Regions from separate parts of the Homo sapiens genome. Here all the other regions are linked to region 3. The links are contacts of gene promoters, found by promoter capture Hi-C in blood cells and fetal thymus (Javierre and others, 2016). All regions are on one chromosome and are shown on one strand. The core of a region is centred on a gene start or on the middle of the fragment in contact, and the rest is flanking DNA. Distances in the headings are between cores, read along the strand shown.

Evidence for each region. The method cuts DNA at HindIII sites, captures the fragments that hold promoters and counts their contacts. A CHiCAGO score of 5 or more calls a contact.
Region 1: a fragment that was not itself captured here is called in contact with the fragment with the promoter of SPIN1 in region 3 in 1 of 17 cell types (total CD8 T cells); the score reaches 5.8 in total CD8 T cells.
Region 2: a contact is called between a fragment that was not itself captured here and the fragment with the promoter of SPIN1 in region 3, in 1 of 17 cell types (M2 macrophages). The highest score is 5.8, in M2 macrophages.

The regions. Positions count from the first base shown.
Region 1 is chr9:88,211,268-88,215,729 of GRCh38, reverse strand. No RefSeq gene overlaps it. Among named protein-coding and RNA genes, the nearest start is that of SPATA31C2, 75 kb to the right of the region's middle. The HindIII fragment of the contact is 629 bases long and covers 2,386-3,014 here.
Region 2 is chr9:88,162,576-88,167,290 of GRCh38, reverse strand. No RefSeq gene overlaps it. Among named protein-coding and RNA genes, the nearest start is that of SPATA31C2, 26 kb to the right of the region's middle. The HindIII fragment of the contact is 5,131 bases long and covers 817-4,715 here.
Region 3 is chr9:88,386,185-88,391,288 of GRCh38, reverse strand. SPIN1 (spindlin 1) reads right to left here and starts at 2,845. Exons shown (of 6, transcript NM_006717.3): 1 at 2,751-2,845. It overlaps LOC124902204 (a long non-coding RNA gene), which reads left to right and starts at 2,090. Exons shown (of 2, transcript XR_007061652.1): 1 at 2,090-2,177; 2 at 3,172-5,104. RefSeq lists a silencer at 2,193-3,092 and an enhancer at 3,170-4,029. The HindIII fragment of the contact is 9,781 bases long and covers 1-5,104 here.

The DNA.
Region 1 (4,462 bases), core at 1,451-3,950, 180 kb after region 3:
TGTGTTAGATAAGCTCAGTTCCGGCATGAGTTATATATAGTGCTGTTGATTGTGAGTTCAATGTTAATGAATCAAAAATATGGTTCATCCATAAAAAGGAAGAGGAAATTCACCAATCTGCACTTGAGGCTGCTCCAGAAAATGCTAAAGTAATATCTATAGAGCATGACGAAACAACAGAAAAGATAGAAAAGCAACTAAATTTATGGATTCATTAGCTGATGACTAAAGAAAATCCCCAAGCCCCCAAATCATAGTGGACAGAGTTGTGAGACTGAAAGCCAAAGAAATTTGCAGTCACATTACTCAGGGTCAGGAAAATGCCAGACCTCTCTTGGCTAGTACTGGGCTGGCTTGCATGTTTCAAAAGGCAATGTGGTGTGAAAAATGTTAACCTCGCAGGAGAGGCAGGTTCTGTAGATAGGGAGGCTATGGAAGAACTTTAAAAACACCTTCTAAGTGTTACATAGGAAAAGCGTTATTTGGGAGAGCAAATTTTCAACGCTGATGAGACTTACTTGTTTTACAAGGACGTTAGCAAACAAAGCTATATAGAGTAAATGGTGTTTTGGTTGGTGAAAATGTTATGTCTGGAGCCTGGAAGGAACCTAACCCTGTGGTTTAGCTTTTGCTAAGTTGATGTTTGCAATGACTTTATGGAACATAACTACCCCTAAATTTAAATGAGAATAGGCTGTAACTGTGTCTTTTATTTCCTTCTGTTGCTTTTTGCACGGGTTAGAGCTTCCAGGACTAAGTTGAATAGTAGTAGTGAGGGTGGGGACCTTTGCTGTGTTTGCTCCTGATTTCACGAGGAGAGCATTCGGTCTTTCACTGTTATGTTTTGCAGGAATTTTTTTTTTTAATCAGGTTGAGGGAGTTCACCTTTATTCCTAGTTTTCTCAGAATTTTTTTAAAATCATGAAAGGTATTAAGTTTTGTCAAATGCAGCCTAGTAATCCCTCTTCTAGGCATATATCCAAAGGAAATGAAATCTCTACCTGGTAAGGATATCTGCACACCCATGTTGCAGCATTTTTCGCAATGGCCAACGTATGAAAACAACCTAGGTGTCTATTAATGGATGAATGGATAAACTATGGCATAAATAGACAATGGAATATTATTTAGCCTTTAAAAAGGGAGATCTTGGGCTGGGTGCAGTGGCTCATGCCTGTAATCCCGGCACTTTGGGGAGGCCGAGGCAGGTGGATCACGAGGTCAGGAGATCGAGACCATCCTGGCTAACACAGTGAAACCCTGTCTCTACTAAAAGTACAAAAAATTAGCCGGGCATGGTGGTGGGCACCTGTAGTCCCAGCTACTCGAGAGGCTGAGGCAGGAGAATGACTTGAACCCGAGAGGCAGAGCTTGCAGTGAGCCAAGATGGCACCTCTGCACTCCAGCCTGGGCAACAGAGCAACACTCCGTCTCAAAAAAAAAAAAAAAAAAAAAAAAAAGGAGATCTTGGCCGGGTGTAGTGGCTCACACCTGTAATCCCAGCAGTCTGGGAAGCCAAGATGTGAGAATAGCCTGAAGCCAGGAGTTCAAGACCAGGTTGGGCAACATATCTATAAAAAATATATGAGAGCCCCATATCTATAAAAAAAAATAAAAATTAGCTGGGCATGGTGGTGTATGCCTGTAGTCCCATCTACTAGGGAGACTGAGGCAGGAGAATTGCTTGACCCCAGGAGTTCGAGGCTGCAGTAAGTGAAGATCACACCACTGTACTCTAGCCTGGGTGACAGAACAAAACCCTGTCTAAAAACAAAACAAAAACAACAACAAAAAGGAAGATCTGCCATTTGCCACAACATAGGTGGACTTGGAACATATTATACTAAGTGAAATAAGCTAGACACAGAAAGAAAAATATTGCATGATCTCACTTATGTGGGGTCTCTAGAAAAAAAGAGATCAAGTATATAGAGACAGAGAATAAAACAGTGGCTACCAAGGTTGGAGTTGGGGAGGAAATGGAGAGGTTTAGGTCAAAAGATACAAAGTAGCAAATAAATATGTAGAATGAACAAGTGGAAAGGTCTAATGAACAGCATGAAGACTACAGTGAATAATAGGGTATCATATTCAGGATTTTTCCTTAATGGGTAGATTATAGCTGTTTTTGCCACAGGAGGAATTATGGATAACTAAATGAGATGATGGAGATGTTAATTTGTTTCACTATAGTAACCATTTTCTTATATATGTATCTTATAACATCATGTTTGTACACAATAAAATTTATTTAAATAAACAAATTTTGTCAAATACTTTACTGCATCAATTGATAACATCATGTGAATTTTATTCTGTTAATGTGGTGGATTACATTGACTGATTTTTTAATATTGAACCAACCTTGCATTTCTGGAATAAGCTTCATTTAGTTATGGTGTGTAATTCTTCTTAAAAATCACTGAAGCCTATTTGTTAATACTTGTTTAAAGGTTTTTGTGTCTACATGCATGAAGGATATTGATCTGTAAGTTTCTTTTTTTGTAATTCTTTGTCTGGTTTTGGTATTAGTGTGATACTGGTCCCATACAATGAGAAGGGAAATATTTTCTCTTCTTATATGATCTGGAAAAAATTGCTTATTGTTAGCATTGATTCTTCCTTAAACAGAATTATCCAGTGAAACAACTTGACATGGCGATTTCTTTTTCAAAGAAAAACGTTGTTTTAATTTTAGAATTAAAATATCTATACATCTAATTGACGAAGATTGTTACAAAGAATAAGTTCCCTGTGTCTATTCACCCATTTCCCACTCCCACAGAGCAACTCTTGTAAACTTTCTTAGCTAACCTTTTGATATCTTCCTCCATGTCTTCAACAAAAATGCCTATATTGTTACTTATTTGGTTTTGCAGATTAAAAATTTCTCTAAGACTTCCCAATGTGGAAGATGATTTATCTCCTTCCCTCCTTCCCTTTCCTAACCTGACAAGCAATTTCTGTCTTCACTTTCTCCCAATCTAATTAAATAGACATTTTTTTCTTAAGCTTAGTAGTCAGCATTTTTATTAGTTGCACCTTTCCAGCTGAACCATGGACCATATACAATGATGATGGTGACGGTGGTAGTGGTCGTGACAACCACAATAGTTAATACAACCTGGGCAACACAGCAAGACCTTGTTACTACAAAAAAAAAAAAAAAAAATCAGCTGAGTGTGGCAGTGCACACCTGTAGTCCTAGCTACTCAGGAGGCTGAAGCAGGAGAATTGCCTGAGCCCGGGAGGTCAGGGCTGCAGTGAGCTGAGCTCGCACCACTGCACTCCATCCTGGGCAACACAGCCAGACCCAGTCTCTAAAAAAATAAATAAAATAAAAAATAAAGACCGTTAACATTTACATGGGGCTTTCTCTGGGCCAGAAAAAGATCCAAGGACTTTAATTTTCACAAAACTTTCACAAGACTGTTATAATAATCCTGATTTTATATATGAGGACCATGGAGATGAAGTGATTTGCCCAAGGTAATTCAGCCGTTAAGTGGCAAAACCAGAATTTGAACCCCAGGCATTCTGGATCTGTATTCTGTAGGTGTGGCCACTACCCTACAGTTTCTAACAAATTTATGTTTGTTCTTGAGTTAATAATAATCTTTTGTTGGTTGCTTATTTTTCCATATATTTATCACTTACGCATTTCAAGTTCTACTTCAGTCATGAAAAGCTTCTCTCAATGTGTTCAAACACATTAGCACTATTATTGTCTTCTTGAAAAAATATTCTAGAGTTCTGGGCTGTCTGTTCTCCAAGCCTGCTTGTGGCTGGCATCCTGGACTCTTTCTCCTGTCCTGTCCTGAGGACTCCCTTCATCTCTCCTTTGTTTGGAACCCACTGTTTTCTGAATGCTAATCATGTTCTTTGTTGTTTTATTTCCTCATTTTGATCAACAACATCCTCTCAGCTTCCAGAGACAATAGAATAGAAAGTAAATTTTGCAACTTCTTCATGTCTAAATATGTCTTTATTCCATCTTCACATTTAATTCATACTTTGTCTGGGTATTGAAGAATCTATAGGCAATCCGAATGTTGAAGATAATCCTCCATTGTTTTTTAGCTTCTACTGTTGCTGTTGAGAATTTCAAAGCCATTCTGATTCCTACTCTTTGCATTTGACCTGCTTTTCCTCTAAGGAAACTTGGAAAGTCATCTTTCCGTTCCCAGGATTCTGAAGGTCACTAATGATGTGTTTGATGGGGGACAAATCTCATTTAATGTGCTCCCCATTTGGTGGATCCTTTTCATTTGGCAAGTCAAATTCTTCAGTTATGATATATCTTCTTGAATTATTTTTTGATTCCTCCTGCTACCATTTTTTCAGTTCACTCTCAGAAACTCTCTTTATTGGAAGTTGGCCCTTCTGAAGTTGGTCAACTAATTCTTTAAAACCTTAAAAAATAATTAATATCCTCAGAAACAAAACAAAAACCTTAGAAATA
Region 2 (4,715 bases), core at 2,133-4,632, 220 kb after region 3:
ACCACCACGCCCAGCTACTTTTGTATTTTTAGTAGAGGTGGGGTTTCATCATGTTGGCCAGGCTGGTAACTGGCCTCCTGGCCTCAGGTGATCTGCCCACCTCGGCCTCCCAAAGTGCTGGGATTACAGGCGTGAGCCACCACGCCAGGCCTCCCTCTCCAGACTGTTTCTCCTCTGCCACCTGGATACCAGAGAAAAGTAAACCCTAGGGATGGGTGGATCTACATTCCAAAAGAAGCCTAAGTTACTGAATGACCACACAGAAGAGTAGTGAAAACATTGCTGTAACCTTACTAGGGAATCAGAAAACTATGGAAAGTATAATTTTCCTGCTTGGACTATGGGAACCAAGATAAACCAATGTGAAACTTACCATTGTGTATGTGTCCTTGGGGGACTAGTGAGTCACAGCAGATGGTCTCCATCCGTCCCCTAATTAATTGCTGCAAATGAATATGAGTGTTTTGTCCTTTAAGATTTTAAATTCTGTTTTGTAACCACCATATGGTGTCCTGTCATCTGCATAGTTATCTATCACTTGAACAGTGACTTATTTATTATATGGCAAAAATATTTGCAGAATGAATAATGACTTGATACTAGTAAAAATACTCATTAGAATCTGGTTTCTGAAAGCAATCACTGAGTGTCTCAGAGCATCACCCCATGTCCCCAAAACCTAATAACTCAAAAAGGGAGGGTTTGCTGTGGTGTGAAGTATGCAGCACACCTACTTTTATGTTTCAACGTCAGCTTCATGAGAACACCCTGTGCTTATTAATTTTTACTCATTTTGCACAAATCGAAATGAAAGCTTAGCTTAATCATTGGAACTCATGCAATCTCCTTGCCTATAGCAACCTCACACACTTGTCACCCGGGAAAACATTGGATTCCTGTTCAGCTTGTTCACCTCATCCCTCAGAGTCCTGCAGTGGCTAAGTTCCAGAAAAGCTGTTTCCTTATCATTCCACAAATGTAGCTCTCTTACAGCTGTGGTTTTGTTTGTGTTTTATCTTTTTCTTTCTTGAAATGGTGGGTTTGTGAGCATTAAGGCCCTTTCTTGCTAAGACCCACCAGCAAAGCTGCAGCTGTTCCTGATGGCCACTACATTGAGATGTTTAAAATGAACAGCTAGGTCACCTCAAGAAGCAAATCAAATCTGACTTTATTTGGACAGCAAAATGTGGAGGCAGGTGCTCACAAGATTAAAGTTATTGTGCCACAAACAATTTATTTGCTTGTTTGTTAACTAGCTCATTCTCTTCCTGGAAGTTTTGTTTGTTTGTTACCTAAAACTGATTTTGTTCCCCTGAAGTAATGCTAACTGAATTTGACTGTAGCATCAGTCTGTGCTGCATTTATTTGCATAACTGAGCTTTTCCACTTTCCTTTTAGGAAAATGGTAAGCGCTGAAGCACAGATGATGGGAGAGACAGCCAAAGGAGAAGAAATCAAGAAAGACTGCATCACACCTAGTGTTGCACTGTTTTCAACTTGGGCATGAAAGAGAGAGTCTTCCAGGGCATAGCTAGTTTTAGGTTATGCATGTGGTGGTGTGCTGAGACACTTCCACAGGCAAGGATGGGACTGTGGCACTTTTAGAAAAGAAAATAACTCCTTAAAAATATTATACTATTGGCTGGGTGTGGTGGCTTATGCCTGTAATCCCAGTACTTTGGGAGGCCGAGGCAGGTGGATCACCTGAGGTCAGGAGTTCAAGACCAGCCTGGCCAACATGGTGAAACCTCATCTCTACTAAAAATACAAAAATTAGCTGGGCATGGTGGCGTGTGCCTGTAATCCCAGCTACTCAGGAGGTTGAGGCAGGATAATCACTTGAACCCAGGAGTCGGAGGTTGCAGTGAGCCCAGATCGTGCCTTTGCACTCCAGCCTGGGTGACAAGAGTGAAACTCTGTCTCAAAACAATATATATATTATATATATATAAATATATAAAAATATATATAAATATATATATATATATAATCTAGAAAATCACATCTACAACTTCCAGAAAAAGAAGGCTGAGAGATGGTTGTAGGGTTATCTCTACAACATCTGACAAAATGAACAACAGAGAAAAGAAACAAGAAGCACACACACGCATGTGCACACACATGAGCTCTCATTCCTCAGCCAATGATGAGAAAGGAGACTTTATGGCCATGACCTCTGCAGAGTGGTGCTCACAGAAAGAAAGAAGCAGAACAGCCTGACTTGGTTTGCAGAAGTATCTAGCCTCAGAACACTCCCCCAAATAAGGGGAAAGAAGTGGGTGAACAAAATCTTGAGAATTTTCACTGATATTTAAAACTTTAGAGGAAGTAATGACATTGATTCTTGCCAACACACGTTATTGAGAAAGGGAGGGAGACGAGGGAAGATACAAAGAAAACCTTAGAAAGGAGACACCCTTCACTCTGACTGCAGGGACAGGTATAGGGAGAGGTAATTGGGATCTTCTGAACTCACCACTTTCGTTTCTTCAAGGTGGGGGGAAAATAAAGGCAAAATTATTAAAATCACAAAGATCTAATAATTCTCCTGAATAGATAGAAACCTAACAGAAGGGAAGAAAAATGAGAACAAAAATCACATCTGTAATCTCAACACTTTGGAAGGCTGAGGCTAGAAGATCACTTGAGCCTAGGAGTTTGAGATCAGCCTGGGCAACACAGTGAGACCCCCATCTCTACAAAAAATTAAAAAATTAGCCAGGTGTGGTGACACACGCCTGTAGTCCCAGCTACTTGGGAGGCTGAGGCAGGAAGATTGCTTAAGGCCAGGAGGTCGAGGCTGCAGTGAGCTATGATCACACCACTGCACTGTCACCTGGGTGACAGAGCAAGACCCTGTCTCAAAAACAAAACAAACAAAAATCTCCAAAAGTAGGAGAGATGGTGGAGGGGGAGGAGGAGGATAGATCTCAGGAAGGAGGTGAAATGTCAGCCCCAGCCCTGGAGGGACTGAGCCATAAAGGCCAACTCAGGTGGAAACGAAGGCGCCCCGTGGCAGGCCACAGGAAACTGAGTCCAAAACCCATGGGCTCAATCCCACAGCAATAAACATCTCTGACACAAAATGTAGCCAAATTGCAGAAGAAATAGGAGTCTTGGTAGGGCAGTCAAGGTTGTGCCCATTCCCAGCTGAGCTCCCTATCCTGAAGTGGCCACCATCCAAGAAGGCAGGGAAGACATTGAGGATGTGGCATATACAGGCCTCACTGCCTGTGGGAGTGGCCTCAGGGAGGCTTCAGAGGCAGTGGGAGGATAGTGGGGCCTGTTTCAAAGCCTCAGAGCTGCCTCAGGTGAGCAGGACTTAAATATGGCAAAGTAAGGACTTCTCAGACCCCTCTTTTCTCTTAAACCATAAGAAAATGACAAGGAGACTAAGAACAGAAATGGCAATCTTGGTGTTAATAAGAGAACATCTCTAATGCCCAACTTCAATATGCTCGAAGCAGGGCTGCCAAGGGCAGGGGAAACTCGTAAACCTGAGCACACAACAGGACCAGACCTTGTACACAGCTGGGGAGCAGGGAAAAGGCACAAGTGAGAAGGCACTCCCTACAGTGTGCAGATCCAGCATGGCATGGGAGATCACGGGAGGAGCTGGTGAGAAAACTTTAGAGGAAGTAATATGACATTGATTTAAGTCTTTTGAGAATTCAAGAACTGTGATGGCTACTGCAACTACCAGCAGAAATACAGTAGAGCAGGCTGGAGAATGTTCGCGTCTTGGTTGCCATGAAAGCACACTCAACAGAGACAGCAAGCCAGGCAGCACCAGGGCATGTACAATTCAAAAGCAGTCTTATCTTCAGTGTTTGCAAGAAAACCTCCCAGGTCAGGGGCTTTCAGACTGTTTTGCTCTAGACCATTGGTAAGAAATACATTTTCATCACACACACACACACACACACACACACACAATTTACATTACTAAATACAATTTTTATTTAGAAGTACATACTCCTATTACATGTGATACATTCTGGTATCTTCTATATAATCCTATTCGATTTTCTAAATATAGATGTGGTGATAAGACCCTAAGATGATCCCCAGTGAACTGTACCTGCTGGTGTTGACACCTTTGGATACTCCCCTCCCCTCAACTCTGGGCAGGACCTGTGACTTATGCTCCTATGGGTTAATAGGACATGACAAAGGTGATCATGTGCCACTCCCAGGACTATATTATGTCATCAGACTGGAGTAAGAGAGCATCCTTGCTGGCTCAGTAAATGGAGTGCCACGTTGAGGAAGCCCATGTGGTAAGGAGCTATGGATGGCCTCCAGCAACTGTGGGCAGCCTCTAGGACCAAGGGTGGGCTCCCACCAACAACCAACAAAAGGCAGGAGTCCTCAGCTATACAGCCACAAGGAAATAAATTCTGTCAAAGGCCTGAATGAGCTTAGAAGTGGATTCTTCCCCAGTTGAGCCTCCAGATAAGAATGGAGCCCAGATGGCATCTTGATTGCAGCCCTATGAAACCCTGAACAAAAGACCCAGCAAAGCTGTTTGCAGATTCCTGACCTACAGAAACTGTGAGATGATAAATATGTGTTGTTATAAGCTGCTCACTTTGTCATAATTTGTTATGCAACAGTAGGAAACCAATCCAGCAGATTACAATCCACTAAATAGATTTCATGACCCCATCATGAGTTGCAGGCTGCAATTTGAAAAACACAGACTTGGCTTGGTG
Region 3 (5,104 bases), core at 1,596-4,095:
AAGAGCCTGTATACCAATAATTTTAATAAACAGTTCTGTGATTTTTTTGGGTATATTTTCATTTCTACCATACCACCAATAATTTATCAGAGATCTATGTAGCTTGAATGTATTTGAGTAACTTCAACATACTTCAGCTCTCCTCCCTGATGTGACCCAAAGAGCCAGTAGGTCCTAAGTGTCCTATGTGTGTTAGAAGCCTGAAGTCAGTGAGATGAAGCCCAACCCAAGAGTTCAAGTAAAGCAACTTGTGGGGCAAGAATATAAAGAAAACAGTGGGTAGTTTGGCAAGAGCATAATTATTAAATTTTCTGGTTTTCAAAAATGTGAACTCCAATAAGAGGACCTTCAATGTGCTGTTTTTGCAATTTTCAGTAACAAATGTGTGTACAGAGAAAATAAAACTGACATATTTGAGTAGCTTTAAAAAAAAACTTTTTTTAAAAAAAGGCTGCATGATGAATCAGTTATGTGGCTTTGGACCAGTAAGGAGTCAATTTCAACCCAGACTGTTCTGACTTGGAAGGCCATTGTGATTCCATGTCTAACTCCAGAATATTGTTTTCACAATACCATAACATCTTCTAAACTGAACAAAATACTTGCACGAAATAGTTGATTCTCTTCTTCCAATTTCTTTTCATTCATGGAAAGGGAAAGAAGACACATTGAATTAAGCATCCAACAAATATAAATACAGCATTAACATTTAAATGCTATCTCAGCAAATATTTTAAAGGATAAACCAAAAGAATGTATATCGAATATACTAGAAAAAAGATGCTAGCAATGAAGGAGTGCAACCAGTAACGTTGTAACTATGTGCAATCAGGTAAGTCACTGGAAGTGAAAACCACCTAAACCTCTGGCAGCTAAAACCAAATTAGTAACTCTCATCAATATGATAGCCAAATTTGAGACACTACCCACGAAATGCAGAGGGGCACACATCAGGCACATCAATATTGTGACCCCTCAGTTCACAAGTAAGGGAGACACACAATTATCTGAGATACACTTTAAGGACACCAATGACCAACATATGGCATCGCAATGGCTGTTCCAGGGAACATCCATTTTCACTGTTTCCTGGATTTCAGGCATAGAAAGATGACTGAAGACATATAGTGGCCCTTTTGCCTTGACCCAGTTCATAACCATTGTAAAAGTAACCATTTCACTACTCAAAAGATTATAAAGAAACTATTTTTCCTAAGAATCTAGGATCTACTACCTATAATTCTGGCATACACATTCTTTACAACCTTAATATATAATTATCAAATCTGATAACGAACGTTCTGTAAATTACCAGGTACTACAATATTTTGGTGTTTGCCTTTTAACTAAAGCTGAGGGGGGAGAGTGGGGAGGTTGGAAGAAGCCTCATTTCACCTGCCCTTTCCAAAATTTCACTTCAAAAGAGTGTTAAAAAAAACTCAGTATATCCAGGTATAAATCTCCAAGTTTAATTTTCACTGCTTAACAAAAGCGATGTAGAAAGCAATTACTGTACCCTCCATTAATCCTTTCGGATTGCATGGAATTCCTTCCAGAAAATTCCAATAGAAAAAAAGTTAAGACAGGTAATCGCGTTTTGGTACGTGTGTCGTCTCTGGCACAAGTCATGTAGAGTGAAATCCTTTAAGACATTTAAATGTTCCTGGTATTGTTTTGTGATTAACGTGATAAAATTGCCAAACAATCCATATTTACCATGAGTGAAAACACTTCCACCACGTACGGAAAATCTCTCCAAAACACAAAATCTGATTCAAAAATTATAAGTAAAAAGAGAATAAATGTAAAAACAATTCCATAAACAAACTTTGAAATGCGTATACGATGACATTACTGAAGCCATTACTCAAAACGAACCTCTGTAAAATCGAGAACGCACAATCAATGCAATAAAATGCTCGAGAAAGCCAAACCCGAGGCGCTGCGCAGTTCCCGCATCGCACAATTCGTTTCAACACATTCCTTGACGAATACACCCAAGGTCACTCACGATGGAGAGGAAAAGTGCCTGTCTCTCTCCAGAGCACGCAACCCGTTCGCCGCGCCCCCACGGAGGGCGGCGAAGAGACGGCGCATCAGGAAAGGGGCTGCGCGGGCGCGAGGACTGGCCGGTGGGCGTTCCGGCGCCGCGAACCGCGGAGCCTGCAACTTACAAGGTCCGCGGCCATCCCCCGGGCCTGGGAGGGGTGGCCCCAGGGCAGGCCCGCGTCCCCGGGGTGACCCGACCCGTCGCGCCGGGGTCCCGCCCCTCCCCCCGCCCCGCCCCCGTCGCCGGCCCGGGATTATGCAACGTTCCCCCTCCCCGCCTGCATTCTGGCGCAGCGCCCCCTCCCCGCGCCCGACTGCGCAGCGCCGCCGCCCCCTGCCCGCCGGCCTCCCCGCCCGGCTCCAAACAAAGCGCGCGCTAAGGGGCCGGCGGCGGCCGGGGAACTGGGGACGAGAGGGTGGCGGCCATGTTGGCGGGGGGCGGCGGGGATGGGGGCACGGAGGAGTAGGGGCCGGCGAACAAAGGAGCGCGCGCCCGCCCCGAGGCCCAGGCCCGCCCAGCCCGGGTCCCCGCCGCGGCCCAGCCGGCAGGGGGCGCTATGCGGGCGCCGCCCGCTGGACAATGCTCCGCCGGGCCCCGCGCGGGCCGCGCTCACCTGCGCCCCCGGGCAGACCGCCGCACCGCTGGCCCGCCCGCAGCCCGCACTCCCTCACGACCCACGCCCGCCCTGCGCGGGCCTCACCTGCTGACCGCCGAGGCTGCAGTCCACAGGCCCACGGGTTCCGCCGTCGCTCGTTCGCGCTCCCGCCGGCCCCAGCCTGAGCCAGACGGCGCCTCCCCGCCCCCGCTCCCTCGCCGCGGACGCCGCCCGCCCCCCAACAGTCAGGGCGCACGCGCACTGCGCCCGCCGAACTGCGACGGCCGCGCCGCCCCGGCGCCTGGCGCCGACGGCCGACTGCGCAGGCGCAGTGGGGCGGGGCGGGGCCGGCGAGGGCGGGGCCTGGCCCCTCTCACCTGGCTGGCGGCAGGGCGGGGCTCGAGCCCGGGACTGCCAGGTGCGCGCCGGGAATGGGCGGCGGCAGGCGCGCGGGGCACAGGTTCCTGAGGGGGCGCAGCTTTTCCTGGAAGGCAGGCAGCCTGAGAAGGGCTTCGTTTTTGCGCAGTAGGACGTTGAAGAAAGGACAAGCCCCCTTTGTCCTGGACGTAAGCCGCAAGTCGTCCTGAGTGGTGCACACCGCGAAGACTGAGGAAACTGGATCACAGGGCTGGGCCGTGAGCCTTGAACCTCGGAGAACGTCGCATTACTGCTCCAGCGCGCCGGTTCAGGGCCGCGGGACGCGAGCCCTTTAAAAGGATGGATTTGCTTCCTGTGACTCCCTGGAAGAGACGTCTTCACCACCGCACTGCGTAGAGGCCGGCGTCGTCGCCGGCTCACCCCGCTTGCTGCCTCCCCGCACAAAGCCCAGCCCAGGTAGCTCAGGTTAGCTGGAGCCCCGGAGCCTCACCTACAAGTACCTGGCCTGTCCTAGGTTGTGTGGGGACGGGATGTGGCTTCTGCAAGCCCAGAAACCTGTTTCCACTCCCCCACCACAAATGGAACTCACCCAGCTCTACTCGCAAGGTTAGGAGCCAAAAATTCCCATGATCGCACGCGAATTCATTTGACTTCCGTTTCAGTTAAGATGCCTTTTCAGCATTTTGTTGCTTGTTTGCAGAAGGGAGAGAGGTAGGATCAAGAATAGTTTTTACTCCTGCAGAGTCGAGTGCGAGACTTGGAGGCTGAGTCCAGGCGCTCTCCCCTCCCCGCCAGTCCCGTGTCCTGGAGCAGGTCACTGACCTGGTTCCTCGAGTGCGACAGCGCAGCCTCATCGTAATAAACCGCCTCCCAAAGCGTTGTCAGATCAAATTCCAGAACATGTTACTGGAAAGCACCTTGAACACTCTAAACTGCAGCACAGTTATTAGTTAGCAATACTCTTTGGGGTTTCACTGGCACCTTTTCTAACAAATAAGATTGATAGATGCCTGCTCAAACAAATTGAAGTGCTTGTCTCAGATGACACACTTGGCAGGCATGGGACGTTCACAGGCCAACTAGAGAGCTAATTTCAAAACTGAGATATAAAAGTGTATCGCTGTACTTACAAGTTACCAAGTGTTGAGAAATTACTCACTTTCATTTGTGTGTTTAATGTCTTTTTTGTTTTTTTAGACGGAGTCTCACTCTGTTCCCCAGGCTGCAGTGCAGTGGCATGATCTCGGCCCACTGCAACCTCCGCTTCCTGGGTTCAAGCAATCCTCACATTTCAGCCTCCCGAGTAGCTGGGATTACAGGCGCGCACCACCATGTCCAGCTAATTTTTAAAAATATTTTTAGTAGAGACGGGGTTTCGCCATGTTGGCCAGGCCGGTCTCAAACTCCTGGCCTCCAGCAATCCGCTGGCCTCGGCCTCCTGAAGTGCTAGGATTACAGGCGTGAGCCACCGCGCCTGGCCTGTTTAATGTCTTGCAGTGGGGTCATCTCCGAAACAAAGAGGGATGGGAAGAAGGTAGGTGCCAAGAAGTCTGCTGGTTGGAAGATTTCATCTCATTGGCGAGATCCCTGGGTTTCTCCACCTCAGCAGTGTTGGCTTTTGGGATGGGATAATCCTTTCATGTGGGGTCTGTTCCATGCTTTGTAGGATGTTTGACAGCATCCCTGGCCTCCACCCACTAGATGCCAGTAGCACACACACTCCTCCAAAATTCACGGAAAACGTCTTCAAAGTCAAATATGTGGCCCCACCTTCATCTCCATCCCCAACCCCTGATTTAAAATTTGCCACTGGTGATGATCTCATTGGGAGCTATTGAGAATACACAGGACTGTGGTTTACACCTGTAATCCCAACACTTTGGGAGGCTGAGGCTGGAGGATGGCTTGAGCCCAGGAGTTTGAGACCAGCCTGGGCAACATAGCAAGACCCCAACTCTAAAATAAATAAAATTTTAAAAAATTTTAAAAAGGCCAAGAACAGTGGCTCTCACCTGTAATCCCAGCACTTTGGGAGGCCGAGGCAAGTGGATCACTTGAGGTCAGGAGTTTGAGACCAGCCT